Linked DNA regions of Homo sapiens: region 2 is linked to region 1. The links are contacts of gene promoters, found by promoter capture Hi-C in blood cells and fetal thymus (Javierre and others, 2016). All regions are on one chromosome and are shown on one strand. Each heading gives the region's core, a stretch centred on a gene start or on the middle of the fragment in contact. The rest is flanking DNA. Distances are from core to core; before and after follow the strand shown. Region 1 holds the start of LIMD2 (LIM domain containing 2). Region 2 overlaps DDX5 (DEAD-box helicase 5).

Region 1 (4,649 bases), core at 92-2,591:
AGGGCAGGGGCGCACCTGAGCTTGGTGTGACAGTGCTTGCAGCAGAAGCAAGAGTTGTGGAAAATGAGCTTGTCGGCCACCAGCCGCTCCATGGGGTACACGGTCTTCTGGCAGGCGGCGCAGGTCTCCTTCACCTGGGCCCGCAGGCTGAAGGACTGTGCGGGAAGCTCAGCCAGGTGCTGCCCCAGTGCTCATCCCGCTCCCTCACACCCCTCCTCCCGCACACCCGGCCCCAGGCCCCTACCTTGGAGCGCTGCACCGTGCTGCTGCCGCCGCCTTTGGCGTCCTGAGGGAGAGGGGCGGTCAGGGCAGGGGCAGCTCCGGGAGGCCCTGGATCAGGGCTGCAGCCATCAGCCCAAGGCCCAGGGGCGCGCCGCAGGGCACAAAGGGGGCCGGCAAACTCTGATGCCTCTCCCCTTCACCCCAGGCCAGGCTCCTGTCCGGGGGGCCCTCCCACCCAGCCGGGCACTTACATGAGAGGGGGTGGCCTGGGCGGCTCCTGCAGCCTGGAACATGGCTCGTTGGAGGTGGAAGCCTCGGGTGGAGAAGCGGCACCCGCTGGGTTCTGCAAGGGGAAGTCAGTCGGGAGGGCCCCGCCAGCCCGGCCCCAGCCTGCAGGGTGGGGGGTGTTGACAGGCAGGGGCTGGGGGGATTGCGGTTGGGACTTTCCCTAAGTCATTTCCTGTTGCTCTTGGTCTTGCCACTTCCGCCCCTCACCCACCTCCCCCACCCCTGCTCCCCAGGGGCCGGGGTCCCGAGTGGCACCGTCCCTCGGAAGAACAAAGTTAGCGGGAGCGGAGGGGCCGGGGGCTCCCGCGCAGCCGCCGTGTGCGTCCCGCGGGCTGGGACCGCTTGGGGTGAGGGGAGGTCGGGGCCGGCGGGGCCGCGATGAGAAGCCGCTGCCCCGACCTGACCCCGGCCCTCGCTGCCCTGCGCCGCGCCCGGGCGTCCAGGCCTAGGCTGCGCAGCCCCTGGACAGCGCCCGAGGTCCCCGCCCGCCCCGCCCCTCGGCCCCCGACCTGGCCCCGCGAGGACCGGACCCCAGACCCCGACGCCGCGAGCCCCGCCAGCGGGTCTCGGCTCCGCCCAGCCGGGGGCCGGCCCTGAAACGAGGACTCGAGCCTGTGCGCCCCGGGCGAGAGCGGCTCGCAGACTCGCCGGGACCCCACGGGCGGCCCTCACCCCACACCCCTCGGCGCCTCTCCCGGTTCCGGAGCCGGACGCGGCCCCTCCCCCCGCGGCTCTCACCAGGCCCGGCCTGGGCCGCGGGGCGGGATCGGTCTCCGGGGGCGCACGGGTACGAGGAGGGCGCGGGCGCGAGCTGCTGCCGCTACCAGTGGTCCCCGAGCCACCGCCGCCGCCACCGCCTTATCGCTGCACCGCCCCCGCCGGCCCCCGCCCCGCGCCCGCCCATTGGCTCCGCCGCGCCCGGAGCCGCCTTCGGGGCCCCGGCGCCGCCGCCGACCCCCCTCCGCGCTTTGTCTTCCCCTCGCCGCCGTCCCCGCCTTTGTCTGTCCCCCGCCCCGGCTCCGCGCTCCCGGCTCCGCAGCGCCCCGCGGGCCTCGCGCTCGCAGGCCTCGGGTACCGGCCGCGCCGTCTGCCCATCCCGACGGCGGCCCGGCGTGGGGAAGCAACGGTGGCAGGGACAGGATGGAAGGGCCGCGCTCCGCATCCTACTGGGAGGGGACGAGTTCAGGCTGCGGCGGCTGCGGTCGCGGGACACTGGGCGCTCCCGGCCTGGCTCCGGGATAACCGGGCGGGGCCTGGGCCATTCACTGCCTCGGTTTCCCCCGGTTGGCCTCGCGCGTAGGCGCCGGCGCCCCCATCCCCGCCCAGAGCTGTGGGGCCGCAGAGACCCAGCCGGGGCGACCCCGGAGCCTGGCCCGGGGTCCCTCGGGCGGCCGAGTCCTCCCGCCGCCAGGGGCCGCCCCCGCCCCTTTGCGGCCCACGAGGCTGGCGGCGGCGTCCGGGCACGCGGTCTCCAGGCCCGGCCGCGAGGCTGCGGGGAGGAGCCTGCACGAGGGCCCGGCAGCCCCGGCAGCCCCCCCAGCCCTCGGCGCCTCTGCAACCCTGCGACGGGCTGGGGAGGCCGGTATGCGTGGTTCCCGGAGCACCCGTCCCCCGAGGCTCCACGTACTCAAGCGTTTCTGGGGCGGAATTCTGTGGGCAGCAACGGGGGCCCCCTCTCCAACAAGCGCACCTCATTTCTCACGTGGGAGCCGCGGCCCAGAGAGCTGAGGTGACAGAGCTTGGGCCGCAGAGCTGCTCCCTCCCTGCAGCCGCACAGCAGGCCGGAGGCACAGCCGGCGAGAGACGGCCACTCGCTTTGGAGCGGCGGCGAGGCCGGCGCCTTCCCGGGCACCAGGGACTGCGTGGCTTGGCCGGAAATCAGGCTAGAAGCAGCTCCGGGAAGCACAGCCCTTAGCCCAGCGCCTTCCCACACTGTGGCAGGAATAGCACTGGCGGCCCACGCGCTTGTCAGGGAACAGAACAGCTCTCGCCCGACGCCTGGCAGGGGAGCAGGGAGGCTGCAGCTTCCCCAGCGACCAGCTGTTTCCCAGGCTGGCGGACTCCACGGACCGGCTCCGCGTCTCCTCTCCAGCCTTCTGTTCTCTCTAGAGGAAGATCTGCGTTTTGTCTGCACTGTGGGCCGACTCTCTAGTGGGGAGCGTCAGACCCTCTAAAGTGGCTGCCTCTCGGGAAAGCTTCCACACCTGTCATCAGATTCTCCAAAGGGGCTGTTTGATGCAAGAAACGGGAAGCCCCGGGGGTACTAGGAGCAGGGCTTGCTGCCATTGGGCATGGTGAGGCCCCGGCACCCTGCCCAGGACGGGCCTGTGGGCTGAGCTGCAGATGGGCATTGAGGATGCCCCAACAGCAAGGTGCAGAAGGCATCCAGAAGCAAAGGAAACTGATGACCAGCGTCAAAAACAAACAAAAAAAGGGAACTTGGCTCGGCGGTGGCTCACGCCTGTAGTCCCAGCACTTTGGGAGGCAGAGACAGGTGGATCACGAGGTCAGAAGTCCAAGACCAGCCTGGCCAACATGGTGAAATCCCGTCTCTACTAAAAATACAAAAATTATCCAGGCGTGGTGGTGTGTGCCTGTAATCCTAGCTACTCGGGAGGCTGAGGCAGAAGAATCGCTTGAACCCGGGAGGTGGAGCCTACAGTGAGTCAACATGAAGCCAGTGCACGCCAGCCTGGGCGACAGACTCTGTGTTTGTGTGTGTGTGGGGGGGGGAGGGCGGGGCGAGGCGAAGGGAACTTGAGGTTTAAAGCAGGGGGAGGAGGGCCGGAAATGCTCCCCGCCGCCCCCGACACTCACTCGCCCCAGGCCCCATCCTAGCCCAGGGTCAGTGTCATTCCCTTCACCTTAGCCTCTCACTGCCCAAAGAGGCTTACTTTTCTTCTTTAAACTGCTGTTAAAATTTGGGAGGAAACGGAAAGCAAGGGCACCTGATGGTTCAGTGCAGCTTCAGGTTAGAGGGGCATTTGAGGTGCCTGAGCTGGGGGAGGGCCTTCCCCCTGAGGGACTGGGAGAAGGGTAAGCCATGTGCCCTGGAAGCACTGCAGGGAGCCTCAGATTTGCACCCCCTGGCTCACACTCGCTGGCGCCAGCCAGCATGGCAGGGATGGGCGGGGCTGGTTCTTAGGTTTCCTGCTCTTTGGGTGCTAGCACCCAGGGTAAGGAGACACCCATGTCCGGTTGCAAGACAAACCCTTCTACCTCCTTTCCTGCCAAAGGCCACCAGCATCCTCTGCCTCAATCTCAATCTTTGGAACTTTTTAGCTCCAAAGTGGTTTGATGACCACAGGCTAAAATTCATAGTCTTAAAATTTTAGATAGTTAAGAGACAGATCTGTTACAGGTTTTCAAATAAACTGGTCTATCTAGTGTAAGAGGTCACTGCTGAGCTTCAGTGAGCACCCATGGGCCTGCTCTTGGATGGTGGGACAGCTCTCACCTGGGGCAGCACGGCCATCCCTGCAAGCACACACACCAGGAAGCAGCCTGTAGCCCCTGAGCTGACGCAGACACAATGCCATTCTCCAGCAGCGTCTCTGAAAATTTTAATTTGTTCTGACAACGAAACTAACACAGCATAAGGACTTAAGCCCTCAAGCTAGGCAAGACACTGATGGCCCTTGGAGAAAGCACCAGGGCAGCTGGCAGGAGGCGCTAAGATGGATTCTTGGTGGGAAAGGAATGAGGCACACACATAAACCGTGGGAAAGACTTAGGTGTCAGGGCCCAAGCCAGAAGAGGGATAAGGATGGACTGTTCCAGCCTTAGTCTGTGCTTAAAAAGACAGAAATGCCCTTCTCTGGAATTATGAGGGAGAGGTCTGAGGGAAGGGAGGCAGGCAGCTTACTACTTGCCCTTTCACTGACCTATAGCATCTGAGGCATCTGAGAGCAAAGTTAAATAGAATGAGGCTGGTCGCAAGCACTGGGAAGAGGTGGCGGTCCTCGGGTTTAAGGAGCCAAACCCTGGGCTTGGAATTCAGCTCCCAGGGCCAGAGCAGCATCTCTCTTCTGCGGAGGAGGTCACCTGAGCTCACAGGACTGGGAATGTCGGCTTTGGACCCTCCTGATCCCTGGTTGTTGAGATTCCCTTGTGTCTCAAAAGCCTTGGAGCAGTGAAGT
Region 2 (4,737 bases), core at 685-3,184, 800 kb after region 1:
CCTTCTGCCACTGTTTTGCAGTCCAGAAAATTAAAATACTTCAGTATTATCCAAATCACCTTCTATATACACCTCAATCAAGCACTTGGACTAAATTTGGCATTTGGTTTCCCTTTAAACAGTTTTAGTCCTTTACGGTGATTTGTAAGCCCAGGCCTTCTTAACTAGGCAAATGCTGCCGCCAGGTGGCCTAGGCCTAACCCCAGAGCCGTTGTCTTGACGCTTAAGCTTCCGGGGAGGGGGGCGATAGGCTTCGTGACTAGGGTAGTGGTATGGTCACTTTAAATATTGCAGTGGCTTCCAAAGGGCAGTCCCCAGCCAGCAGCATCTGCCTCACCTGGGAATGCACTAGAAATAAACCAAGGGGCCCTGACATGTCTTAAACCCTCCTGGTGTCAGAGAAAACCACGTACGTGCAATTTCTTCCAGGGGCCCCTTCTATGGGTTCATCAAAACAATGAGACTTGTGACTGTTATTATTAAGAGACTCATGATTAAATTGCAGGTTTCTGATTTTGCAGTTTCTATTTAAATAGGTCGAGACCTTAAGACCTACCCAGAAAGTGGAAAAGTGGTATACCCAGACTGAGGAAGTTTGATTCCAAAGTCCATGATTTCTTATACCAGCCTCAGTTACGAAAACCTTTAAAGAGGTTCAGGGAAAAAGGAACAATCTACATTTCACTGTGAGACTACCAAACTACTACCTGATTAAGAGGGGTAACAGCTTAGCAATTGAGTTAATGTAATTCAGGAGTAAAGTTTTATCATTAGTAAAGTGCTGTACCAGGTTCAGGAAATAGTTCTTCTTTACAAGTGTATACAAGGGTTTAAAAAAAGGCCAGCTAGATAGTAATTAACTGCAAAGCTGGGTACTACTGCCAGGTGTTTTCCACATTCAGGAACTCACACCAGGTAAAAGGCCTATACGCAAATAAATAAAAAGAGAGAATGGGGAGAAAAATCACATTTATTAGTTAAGACGACCACAGGCTGGACACAACACACATGCTAAAAAGTGGACTGTCTTTTAAAACTTCCAAGGTAAATAGGTAAATGTTTTCCACAGCCCAACAATCATTTCAGTGTTTACAAATTAAAAGGCCCACGGTTAAGACATTAAACAGTAAAATATGTAATAAATGCTCCAACCTACCCTCTCCCCCGAAAGCTGCTTCTAAGTTTAAAACCATGAATTTGACTAACCATGCCATTGAAAACCATCCAGGTTACTACAGGCTGAATTAGTTTTCAATGTCTAAGTCCTAGAAATATCACTCCCTATCCCAGCCCTAGCAAATTCTAACTTTACATTTGACATAAGGCATTAACATCAATTAAAGCCTCAGTTTAATAATCAGAATTTAAATGAAGTCTCCTGAAGACCTCTCTTCTGGCAAAAAAAAACACGTATCAGACTCTGGGAAAACATTCAGACCCACTTCTAGCTATTACTGAAATAAATGATTAGAAAGTTACGTTGGTGAGCCGAAGTTAAACCTAAAGCTATCCCCTGGATCTTTCTAGCAATAAACCCATGTTGAACCTACCATGAAAACTTTCATTCACTGTGCTTTTGGTTACGTTGCCTCCTGATTAGTCATTAATTTTAATGAGGTTTTTTCCTTGTGTTGAGTATGAATAGACCTTACAGTTTGAGGATCTCTAGAATTCCCTGAATTATTGGAAAGACATTCATGACTCCCAGTGTGACTAGTTAAGAGCCCCAGGGAGCCTGTGAAGACTAGAATCTACAAGTAACCTGCACTAAGAACGAAATTCAGTAAAGGAGACTCAAGCTTAGCTCCTGGCCATCTTAAAGGGCTAATGTATGTCTTTCACAGGTTTGTTCAACATTTCAGTAATTCACAGTATAGCCAAGAGCATGAGTATAAGTCTCTTGAAAAAGCCAGTTATTTGGAGCTTTTTAAATTATAAACTTTGAAAAAGTCACCCACGTTCTCACACTATATAGATGACTTTGTATCTATTTTACTATTTTCTCATTTAACCATACTAGCAAATAAGGAAAAAGGCTATTAAATGACTCCCCTGATGCTGGAAGCTGACAAAGCTTTTATGCAATTTAGCCTGTAACTAAAAATTCACCTGTATCAATTCATTCTGACTCCTGCAATATGAATAGCTCATTATAAAGAAGGGCCTTCTGATTCCCCCTGCCTCCCAAATTAAATAAAAAGGAACAGTCATTTGTTTTCATGGAAAAAAAAAACCAAACAAAAACAAAAAAAAAACCAGACCATCTTAAGCAAAGTTTTACATGACATTATATAAAATAAAGTACAATTTCCACTTAATTCAGTCTTCAAATATTTTTTATTGGAAGGCCATGCATTGCCTTCATTTATTGTATTTCAAATCACTGTACATTTACTTTTGTGAAAACACTGCCTGCATTTTCTAGTACAAAAAAAACCTAAAAATTGTTTCAGGAATGTAGAGAAATATCCAACTTAAATAGCGAAAAAGTGCACCATAATTACTGCTGCACTGCAGTCATTTCTGCAATTCCCATGTTTCTTAAATAACTATCTTGTCAGATAACACACAATATAAAGAGCAATTATGAAAAACAGACATTTACATATACTTCTAAAGTCTTATTGGGAATATCCTGTTGGCATTGGATAACCAATCATAGGTGCAGCTGCAGTAGCAGGATATGCATATGCCTGTTGGTTCATACCATTGTGCATATTTGGAACATTACTTCCGTATTGCTGAGTGCTATCATAACCATTCTGGTAAGTCCCTGTTGGATTACCAGTCCTAAAACTGGTCTGTATACCAGCAGACACAAAATTACTTCCAAAGCTCCCATTGGTGTAATTTGCAGCACTGTAAACACCATTCTGAGTTTTTGCCCCAAAATCTCTTTTAAGCAGGCTAGAGTAACCTCTGTCATAATTTTCCCTGTCTCTAAAGGTATTAAATCCACCCCTTTTGCCCGCAGAGTATCTGTCCCGACGGTCATCCTTCATGCCTCCTCTACCCCTGGAACGACCTGTCAAGAAAACAATTGCAAATTGATCAATTATGTCTATGACACAAATCATTGTGGACAGAAAGAAACAGATCTATTCATGGTAGGCGTGAAATGTTTTTACAATTTTTCAGCTTAAGTTTTCACATTCAAGGTTTTACTCACCCTCCAATACCATTTAAATGGATTTGTAGACAACGATGTGACTCGTAACTACCAACATTTCCTATCAGTCATCCTTACCTGAACCTCTGTCTTCGACCAACTGAAGCAACTTGGGATTAATTGCTTGATTAGCTTCACGAAGCACAGAGATAAGGTCGCTCACTTGCTTTATGTTATTAGGTGTAAAGAAAGTGTATGCTGTGCCTGTTTTGGTACTGCGAGCAGTTCTTCCAATTCGATGAATATAATCCTCTGAGGAGTTAGGGTAGTCATAATTGATGACAAATTTCACATCTTCCACATCTGTAAGGTGTTGCAGTGTGGCAAAATAGCAATGTACGGAGTTTTGCACACCACAACAGCCAGACCAAAAATAAAAAGTTAGACAATTGTATTCCCAAGAAGGTACGGGCTGCAAAAAATACAGTTAAAATGGTTATCCATTTCCTGTAGGAATACCATTGAGGTTGAAAAAAGAAAAAAAAGCACATGTCATCTGTATAATTCATCACCCACCCAGTGACAGACCCTGTCAAAAGGAATGTGTGTTCCCTAAGCACATTCCCAAATCAGCAAGTTCCCTTACAGATCATCAAGTGACATCTGAATGCTTCTGCGCAGTAGGGCCACTTAAAGTTTCACAGCAACCTCTTCATGTGCTCATTTTGAGGACCTTGAAACAAAAAAATGTACAAGGTCCTTTGCATTACACATTCATCAGAAGTTCAAAATTCTGGCCACACTGCTTGTCTTGCCAAGACCTTACAACCGCAGCTGCAAGAAAACATACCTGTCCCCCAAAAGTTGTTTTTATGCACTGTGTCTCGTCTAGGCAAGCGCTTCCAAGAAGCCAGGATTCACTTGAGAATGTGTCTCTCTCTGGCAGGTCTCGACATGACGACTACTGTGTAGGTGAGGGAGGAACTTTCAAAGCACTTTCTTTTCCCACTTACTATGTGTGAGAAGTTGCTCCTGCTCTAGATCTCATGTGCCAGTACTCACCAATTTGTAAAAGGCTTAGTACCTTTTAAAGCTGCTCTCTCCATTTCAAACTTGAACAAAAATTTCATTGAACATTGAAGTTTGGAACTACTTCTTCGACATTTCAGCAAACTCACTGAAACTCAAAGACCCACAGATCACAGTGAACAGTTTGAAACAAGGCTGTACCATGGCAGTCATGCAAAGCATGGGACAGAAGAAATACCACGGCAGTGAACTGTGAGGATAACTTCCATTTTTTCCCTCGGAGAGAACAGTTTACGGGGCAGAGGTGATATGTTCTGCCTTTTGAAGATTACTGGCACACGTTCAGCTTTTTCACCTCTCTAATCGACTGGAAGCAGCCAGCCGATCACTAGTCCTCCATCCCCCTCGAGTCCTCCGATTGTCATGCCTAGGCCTTGCCACAAAGACAGCACCTTTATGTGAAAAAAAACTTAGAAAAAATGCAGGTTAAAGAAAGCAATAAACTTTCTTTAAAAAAGTTAAATGGAGATCTTCTGGGAAACCAAGCCATGAATGCGAGTTTGTACTAACCTAGCCCTCTGGAGGCCACATCTGTAGCA

What was found. The method cuts DNA at HindIII sites, captures the fragments that hold promoters and counts their contacts. A CHiCAGO score of 5 or more calls a contact.
Region 2: a contact is called between a fragment that was not itself captured here and the fragment with the promoter of LIMD2 in region 1, in 1 of 17 cell types (naive CD8 T cells). The highest score is 5.8, in naive CD8 T cells.

Annotation. Positions count from the first base shown.
Region 1 is chr17:63,698,784-63,703,432 of GRCh38, forward strand. It overlaps LIMD2 (LIM domain containing 2), which reads right to left and starts at 1,342. Exons shown (of 5, transcript NM_030576.4): 1 at 1,249-1,342; 2 at 474-565; 3 at 245-286; 4 at 16-155. The coding sequence starts at 515. LOC729683 (a long non-coding RNA gene) reads left to right here and starts at 1,555. Exons shown (of 1, transcript NR_046273.1): 1 at 1,555-3,902. It overlaps STRADA (STE20 related adaptor alpha), which reads right to left. Exons shown (of 13, transcript NM_001003787.4): 13 at 4,049-4,649. RefSeq lists silencers at 221-450, 541-1,000, 1,091-2,050, 3,241-3,320 and enhancers at 1,755-2,340, 2,341-2,925, 2,721-2,820. The HindIII fragment of the contact is 14,945 bases long and covers 1-2,703 here.
Region 2 is chr17:64,497,302-64,502,038 of GRCh38, forward strand. It overlaps DDX5 (DEAD-box helicase 5), which reads right to left. Exons shown (of 13, transcript NM_004396.5): 11 at 4,709-4,737; 12 at 3,248-3,472; 13 at 953-3,025. The coding sequence ends at 2,622. It overlaps MIR3064 (microRNA 3064), which reads right to left and starts at 3,538; the gene lies at 3,473-3,538. It overlaps MIR5047 (microRNA 5047), which reads right to left and starts at 4,012; the gene lies at 3,913-4,012. It also overlaps a transcript of MILR1 not described here. RefSeq lists an enhancer at 1-30. The HindIII fragment of the contact is 275 bases long and covers 1,798-2,072 here.